Linked DNA regions of Homo sapiens: all the other regions are linked to region 2. Evidence: promoter capture Hi-C in 16 types of primary human blood cells and fetal thymus (Javierre and others, 2016). All regions are on one chromosome and are shown on one strand. The core of a region is centred on a gene start or on the middle of the fragment in contact, and the rest is flanking DNA. Distances in the headings are between cores, read along the strand shown. Region 1 overlaps KIF5A (kinesin family member 5A). Region 2 holds the start of CYP27B1 (cytochrome P450 family 27 subfamily B member 1). Region 3 has its middle 21 kb from the start of GIHCG.

The links. The method cuts DNA at HindIII sites, captures the fragments that hold promoters and counts their contacts. A CHiCAGO score of 5 or more calls a contact.
Region 1: a contact is called between a fragment that was not itself captured here and the fragment with the promoter of CYP27B1 in region 2, in 9 of 17 cell types (naive B cells, naive CD4 T cells, M2 macrophages and 6 more). The highest score is 7.6, in naive B cells.
Region 3: a contact is called between a fragment that was not itself captured here and the fragment with the promoter of CYP27B1 in region 2, in 13 of 17 cell types (naive CD8 T cells, total CD8 T cells, naive CD4 T cells and 10 more). The highest score is 16.6, in naive CD8 T cells.

What each region holds. Positions count from the first base shown.
Region 1 is chr12:57,574,512-57,577,211 of GRCh38, forward strand. It overlaps KIF5A (kinesin family member 5A), which reads left to right. Exons shown (of 29, transcript NM_004984.4): 16 at 573-761; 17 at 1,129-1,246; 18 at 1,576-1,640; 19 at 1,758-1,867; 20 at 2,250-2,351. Among named protein-coding and RNA genes, the nearest start is that of PIP4K2C, 15 kb to the right of the region's middle. The HindIII fragment of the contact is 1,757 bases long and covers 525-2,281 here.
Region 2 is chr12:57,765,691-57,768,390 of GRCh38, forward strand. CYP27B1 (cytochrome P450 family 27 subfamily B member 1) reads right to left here and starts at 1,388. Exons shown (of 9, transcript NM_000785.4): 1 at 1,157-1,388; 2 at 317-507. The coding sequence starts at 1,351. The HindIII fragment of the contact is 11,205 bases long and covers 1-2,271 here.
Region 3 is chr12:57,913,511-57,916,210 of GRCh38, forward strand. No RefSeq gene overlaps it. Among named protein-coding and RNA genes, the nearest start is that of GIHCG, 21 kb to the right of the region's middle. The HindIII fragment of the contact is 9,190 bases long and covers 1-2,700 here.

The DNA.
Region 1 (2,700 bases), core at 153-2,652, 190 kb before region 2:
TCCACCCACCTCGGCCTCCCAAAGTGTTGGGATTACAGGCGTGAGCCACCGAGCCCGGCCCAGAATTGGATTTTTTTTTTTTTTTTTTGAGATGGAGTCTCACTCTGTCGCCCAGGCTGGAGTCCAGTGGTGTGATCTCGGTTCACTGCAACCTCCGCCTCCTGGGTTCAAGCAATTTCCTGCCTCAGCCTCTTGAGTAGCTGGGATTACAGGCATGTGCCATGATGCTTGGCTAATTTTGTATTTTTAGTAGAGACAGGGTTTCACCACCATGTTGGTCAGGCTGGTCTCGAACTCCTGACCTCAGGTGATCCACCCACCTTGACCTCCCAAAGTGCTGAGATTACAAGGCATGAGCTACTGCGCCCAGCCAGAATTGGATTTTTAAATGCAGGCGGAGGAATTTAATGTGAAATGCCGCTGATAGAGAGCTGCTAAAGGTCGTTTGGAAAATACCCATCCCATTTGAGTCCCTGCGTATGTGGGTGTGTATGGGTAGGTAGAAGGTGGGAGGGAACAGATAAAGCTTCCCAGCAGCCAAGAAGCATCTCTTCCTCCTTTAATCACCTTAGCCAGTGGAGATCAGTGGGGCCATCGAGGAGGAGTTCACTGTGGCCCGACTCTACATCAGCAAAATCAAATCAGAAGTCAAGTCTGTGGTCAAGCGGTGCCGGCAGCTGGAGAACCTCCAGGTGGAGTGTCACCGCAAGATGGAAGTGACCGGGCGGGAGCTCTCATCCTGCCAGCTCCTCATCTCTCAGGTGAGTGCCTAAGTTTGAGAACCTTCAGATGCCATGGGAGAAAGAAGGCTACTCTGGGGTTATGGCTAAAACTCCTAACACCCACCTTTATGTCAAAGTTCTGGGGTCAAGTGAAATCAAGGACAGAAAAGCTGGGGTGGCAGGGGTGCAGATCAGGGCCAAAAAAGTAAAGGCTCAGGGCGGGTACTGCCCCCTGAGCCATGGGAGCTAAAGGAAGAGCCCCATAGGAATGGCCCCCAACCCTGCACCCTCATGGGAAGTGTAGCAGGAGGGAGGGCTGGGAGGAGAGCTGGAGTTGGAGATCTGTGTGGCCTGGGTTTGTGTCCTTTGCTCCATCTTCTTCCTCTCACCAACTTTCTCCCACCAGCATGAGGCCAAGATCCGCTCGCTTACGGAATACATGCAGAGCGTGGAGCTAAAGAAGCGGCACCTGGAAGAGTCCTATGACTCCTTGAGCGATGAGCTGGCCAAGCTCCAGGCCCAGGGTGAGGCCTTCTTATACCTCCATCCCACTGTCCAGGGCAGAAAAGTCAGAAACATCAAAATAAATCACCCCAATAATCACTCACTCAAAGCATTAGCTTGAAATCATGGATGCCAACTCATATGTTAGCCAAGGTTTTGCATGTAGCTCATTTTACATTAACCATACACCCTTGTTCTCTGTTCCTGCTATATCAAATTGGACAGTCCTAACACAGAAGAACATCCCTGTGGGTCCATTCCCAGCCCTGCCTGGAGTTCTGGTCACAACGTGAAGTTCTTTCCGAAAGAGGTAGGTTTGATGTCAGCTGTCTTCCCCTCTTTCCCTTAGAAACTGTGCATGAAGTGGCCCTGAAGGACAAGGAGCCTGACACTCAGGATGCAGATGAAGTGAAGGTGAGTAAGGAAGGTGTCAGGGACAATTGGGGCCTGGTGTGGTGAAAGCTGTGCTGGCCCTCACAGAGCTTGTTGCTGGGAGTCTGGCCTTTGAGCTTGGGGTGGGGTTGTTTGCAGAAGGCTCTGGAGCTGCAGATGGAGAGTCACCGGGAGGCCCATCACCGGCAGCTGGCCCGGCTCCGGGACGAGATCAACGAGAAGCAGAAGACCATTGATGAGCTCAAAGAGTAAGGGTTCCCAAGGGCGACTCCAGCCCCTCCCGGGTCCTGTCACCTTGCTGTATTGACTCACATGTCCCCTCTGGGTCTGATTCTTTAACATCCATGTGTCATTCCCTCAACAATGCCACAACTTCGTAGCCCCACCTCAGGAGACACATGGAATAACGACTAGTCCCTATCCTTGAGGGTCCCAGGATTAGAGAGGTCAGGGTTCCTGGCTCTGTCATGGAAACAGTGGCCTGAGTCTGCCTCTGGTATCTGAAGGTGGACACATCAATTCTAACTGGACTCACTCGTTCAAAAAGGAAGAAGTTTGAAGAGCTGGCCTTCCCTTCCCCCTCATTAACATCTTTCTCCCCCATCTCCATTACCTTCTGATGCTCTGTAGCCTAAATCAGAAGCTCCAGTTAGAGCTAGAGAAGCTTCAGGCTGACTACGAGAAGCTGAAGAGCGAAGAACACGAGAAGAGCACCAAGCTGCAGGAGCTGACGTGAGTGGCATGGATTTACCTGTAAAACTACAGCCTTGTAGGCTCAGAACTGTGAACTCAGACACGCTTGCAGAGGCAGGACACACATGCAGACATGATAGGGTGACTCATGGGAAAAATATGATGGGGTAGGGACGGGACCAAAAGGACACTCTCAGCAAAGACTGCCGTTGAGTATTCACCAGTATGGAAGGAGGTTTACGTGTTCTATTCAGTGTAAAAACAGGTTACAAAACCATATGCATGGTATGATCCCATAAAAATGTATACATGGATATGTAGGCATAGAAAAAAGTCTAGAAAGGTGGACACCAGAAGGTTAATGTTGGTTTGATCTGTAAATAGTAGA
Region 2 (2,700 bases), core at 138-2,637:
GGGCCGGGGTTCCCGGGTAACTTGAGTCACAGAACCTTACATTCATTCCATCCAGATCCTTGTACCCTAGCCCAATTCCTCCGGTTCCCCCAGTTCCCAGGATTCGGGCCTCAAAGGATAAGGAGGTAGGCGGGGAGTGAGGTTGGGGCTCAACCTGAGTGTGGGTGAAGCAGACTGGGATGGGAACCCCAAGATGCCCAATGGTAGAGTGGGACAGCCGACCTCCCACCATGCCCCCAGATTGATAGTTTCGGGACCCGCAGCAGGAGAGGGCCGCTGCAGGGCGTCTGGGCTTCTGGGGGCAGAGAAGACTCACGCAGTGAGCAGTCCGCAAGCCCGCTGGCGGCAGCGGCGGTGCTCCGTCCAGGGCGAGAAGCTGCAGCGCTCGGGCCGGGGTCCCTCCTGTCGCAGCAGCTCCTCGACGAGTGCAGGGGCAGCCACGTACACGGTGCGCACTGTCCCAAAGCTGGCTAGCCACACCGGCCCGAAGTGCGCGGCGCCCTGCACCTGGGGGAGCGGACACAGCGGACACTTGGATACCTGGGCGGGGACTTTCAGCTTGACCTGTGCCCACGCCAAGGGCGTTGACTGGGCTTGGGAATAGGGAGCTTCTGCTCTTTCTCGGGTGCCCAACTAGTGTATGCCTTTGATACTGCAAACTCCTCCTCTCTCATTTCCCATCCCTAGAAAGTTTGAGTGTGATGGGCAAAACCGGAACTTTGTGCAAGGCAGACATTCAGGACCTCTCTGATCATCTCGGTCGAGGAGAAATCTCTAAAAGTTCCATGTCTGGACTGTCCATCTCAGGACGAGTCCTCAGTGAATGAAAAGGAACCCATGTAGCTTTAAGCCGCAAGCAGGCGGAGGGTACTGCCCACTCCGGCCTCCCCCTCCCGCGCACTTGTACTTTATCTGCAGGATCTCCACACCTCAGGACAGCGAGAAGGCGCTTTCGCAGCGCCCTCTGCTAAGAGTCGGGACGGGCTCTGCCCGAGTGTAGCCACACCGCCCCCAGCCTCAACTCGCCTTTTCCTTATTTCATGGGCATCCGTTCTCTCTGGCTGTCCCACATTTGCTCTGCACTAGTCAGTCCTTTCTGACGCTGTCAAAACCAGTTTCCCCAGCACTCTGTCTCGGGAAAGGCGTCCCTTCCTACCTGCAGCTCGTGTAGCCTCGACAGCCCCCCCTTGCAGAAAAGTTCGGCCAGAAAGCTGGGCGTAGAGGGGCCTGGGATGTCTGCCAAGCTCCGGCGTGCTGAGTGGTACTCTCGGTAGCCTAGGGAGGCGCCCAACTCGGGCGCCCAGCGGACGCGATGGAACACTCTGGAGGCGTACTTGAGGGTCTGGGTCATGGTCTGGTTCAGGGTGCTCGCGAAAGAAAGCGCTTCTCCTGAGCATCATATCTCAACCCCTATTTAACCTTTGGGTGAGGTGATGACGCCCCCTCTCCAAGCTCCTCAGCCAATCCCTCCTCCTGAGTGGTCTGTGCTGGGGATTAGCACCCAGGAACAGTAGGCGGGGCTGGGGCTGACTTCACAACTCCCTTGGGTCTCATGTTGCAATGACCCTCATGGGAGGGAGGGCCTAAGATTTTCCTCCTGGGAGAGTGCCTTTGTCTAGGAGCCTCAAAGTCTCATCCTAGGAAAGGCTATAAGGCTTTTTAGTAGGGACTAGGTGACCAAGCTACACTAGTCAGTCTCTGATATTCCCACTTCTACCAGTGAGCCCAGCCCCTTTAGGCCCATCCTCAGGAATTCCCCATCTTTCAGCTCCTCCAGGAAGGGAAGCAGGGGAGGCACAGCTGTAACTGTCCCCACATTCTTGGCTTAGTGGGTTGTATCTTCTCTGCATTATTTTCCTGCACTAGCCACACCTCCCCCTCCTCCTGTACCTAACATATACTGGGCAGATGGCAGGTGGGTTAATGGGCTAAAATGGCTCCTAGAACCTCCATCTTTCTTTCTTGAGGATAAGGGGGTCTCTTGGGTATACAAGCCCCCTCCTTCCAGACATGGGAATTTGGGGCTTGAGAAGCAGAAATGAAACTTTTTGTACATTAGTTAAGTTCAGAGATTGTCTGTGGGGTGTTAGAGGAGCTAAATGGATGTGGATGTTCTAATTCCCCAGCTGACTCGGTCTCCTCTGGGGGGCTTTCTGGTTAGCAGCTCCTTTCTACTTTTAGCCTCAGAATCCTGTGGTGGCTCATGCCTATAATCCCAGCACTTTGGGAGGCTGAGGCAGGAGGATGGCATGAGGCCAGGAGGTTGAGACAAGCTTGAGCAACATAGCAAGACTGTCTCTACAGAAGAAGTTTAAAAATTAGGCTGGGCACGGCAGCTCATGACTGTAATCCCAACACTTTGGGAGGCTAAGGTGGGCAGACTGCTTGAGCTCAGGAGTCTGAGACCAGCCTGGGCAACATAGTGGAACTGTCTCTACAAAAAATACAAAAATTAGCCAGGCATGGTGGCGTATGCCTGTAGTGCCTTGAGAGGCTGAGGTGGATTACATGAGCCCGGGAGGTCAAGGCTGCAGTGAGTTATGATTGTACCACTGCACTCCAGCCTAGGCAACAGAGAGAGGGCCTGTCTCTAAAAAAAATTAAAATAAAAGAATCTCCCACAGTTTACCTCTCTGCTCCTTACTCCCTCATTCCCCACTGCAACTCTATCAGGCTCTGTGCCAGTCAGCTAGCTCTGAA
Region 3 (2,700 bases), core at 171-2,670, 150 kb after region 2:
GACAAGGAGATGAGCAGATGAATGACAGAGAAGGAGAGAAGAGAAGGAGCATTTGAACGCCAAGAGAAGTTCGGCTGGGGTTGAATGGAGAGCAGATTGGCTGCTGGATGGCCAAACTCCAGGGGAAGATCATCTTCCCACCCCATCCCCCTTTCAGTTCCCCATCCATGCCTCTGAGCGCCATCTCCACCATTCAATAAAACCCCTGCATTCATCCTTCAAGTCCATGTGTGACCTGATTCTTCCGGGACACTGGACAAGAGCTCAGGATGCAGAAAGCTGCCACACTGGCCCTCTGCCCTTGCAAAAAGGCAGAGGGTCCACTGAGCTGGTTAACACTAGCAAGGCTAAAAGCGCACACTGTAACACATGCCTGTTGGGTTCCAAGAGTCACAGGCTCCCAACCCTGGATGCTGCCATGGGGCCGGAGCCCAGCACCCTGGCTCCTTCACATGTCCATCTGTGTGCTCCCCATCCTGTAAGGGGTTTGATCAGTGGCAGCGACCTAACAGATGAGCCACACCCCTGTCACATGTCCTGCAAGGGGGGTCAGGGAACTCTCCTATTTCACTACTAATATGTCAGACACTAAAACCATCTTTATTAATCCTGCAACAACTCTGCAAGGTAGATCTTTTAAAAAATTTTTATTTTCATTTCAATTTTTTTTGGGGTACAGATGGCTTTTGGTTATATGGGTAAGTTCTTTAGTGGTGATATCTGAGATTTTAGTGTACCCATCACTTGAGCAGTGTACACCATACCCAATGTATAGTCTTTTATCTCTCACCCCTCCCAACCTTCTCCCCACAAGTCCCCAAAGTCTTCCCACGAATTTTCTTATGCCTTTGCGTCCTCACAGCCTAGCTCCCACTTATGAGAACCTATGATATTTGGTTTTCCATTCCTGAGTTACTTCACTTAGAATAATGACCTCCAGCTCCATCCAAGTTGCTGCAAAATACATCATTTCATTCCTGCAAGGTAAATCTTATTATCTCTATTTAACAGATGAAGACACAGACTTAGAGGGGCTATATAACATGCCCAAGCTCATAAAGATCATCAAAGCAGAGCCAAAAGTCAAACGTATTGTTTTTATCCAAAGCCTGTGCTGTTTCCAGGATAACTATGCAGCCTCCATCAGGCTGGGGAAGGAGAGGACCCAGATGGGCTTGTTGAAGTACCAGTGGGTAATTGGTGAAGTGGCCAAGGGTAGGAGGAGTGCAGGGTAAGAAAGAAAGAGCAAGGGAAGGAAGTTGAGGTGTGGCATAAGCAGGGAAAGCTGTTGGATGCAGGGTTGGAGTTAGTGGGGGTGGTTTCCTCCACCCTCCACAGGTCGATGGCTTGAAGGCTAGCCAGGCAGGTGGACTTTGAGGAAGAAGACATGAGTGAGGTGCTTGAGTCCCTTAAAGAGGAGTTGTGGCTCCTGGCTGGTTCTACAATATTGCTCATTGACAGATGGGCCTTTTCCTGCGTGGGATTCTGAGGATGGTAAGAACAAAGTGAGGGTTAAAGGCGTGTGCCCACTCTAGTCAGTCAACAGCTTTGAGCTTCTTGAGATTTGCAATGTGCATTCAGTCAGTTCCAAGCAACCTTTGATGTTAGCTGTCTTCTCCTGGCACATAGTTCTTGATAATGTTTAGTTTCACATCCATAGGTTTAGCTTTTTCCCTGTTCCTTGGTGTCAGAGTTTCAAAACAGTGAAAATTTTTTCTTACATGATGAAAATATGTGAATAAAACAGACACATTTTGCAAGAAAGACAAACACAACACAATACCAGTCTCAAGACACTGACAAGCATAAGGGGTATGTGGGTATCTATTTGAGTGGTTATCCCCAGGGCATAATATTTTCACTATATCCTACTGCTGGGGTGGCAGCCAGACTGACTACATGATAGGGGCTGGGTGCTTGCCTTCTTCTAGGTCCCATACTGTTTCAAAGTATAGTTGAAAAAAAAAAAAAAGAAGGAAAAATTCCAAATAGAGAATCGACATGGTTCTAAATCCACATAATATAAACTCATGGATGCAAGCTGCTCATGATTCCACAGACCTTTACCTAAAATTCTTTTGGAAAATGCATCAATTTTAGGATATATAGATAGACATGATGATTACAGTTGTATTTTTTTAAAAGTGAGTATTACCAGTAGTTTAAAAAACACTGTGGCCGGGCACAGTGGCTTACACCTGTAATCCCAGCAATTTGGGAGGCTGAGGTGGGCTGATCACAAGAGGTTGGGAGTTCGAGACCAGCCTGGCTAACATGGTGAAACCCCGTCTCTACTAAAAATACAAAAATTAGCTGGGTGTGGTGGTGGGTGCCTGTAACCCCAGCTACTCAGGAGGCTGAAGCAGGAGAATGGCTTGAACCTGGCAGGCAGAGGTTGCAGTGAGCCGAGATCGTGCCACTGCACTCCAGCCTGGGCGACAGAGCGAGACTCTGTCTCAAGAAAGAAAGAAAGAAAGAAACAAACAAACAAACAAAAAAACCCACTGTGGGCTGGGTGCAGTGTCTCACGTCTATAAACCAGCATTTTGGGAGGCTGAGGCATACGGATTGCTTGAGCTCAGGAGTTTGATACCAGCCAGGGCAACATAGTAAGACACTGTCTCTACAATTTTTTTTTTTATATCATTCTGGTGTGTGGTAGCTTATACCTGTAGTCCCACCTACTTCGGGGGCTGAGAT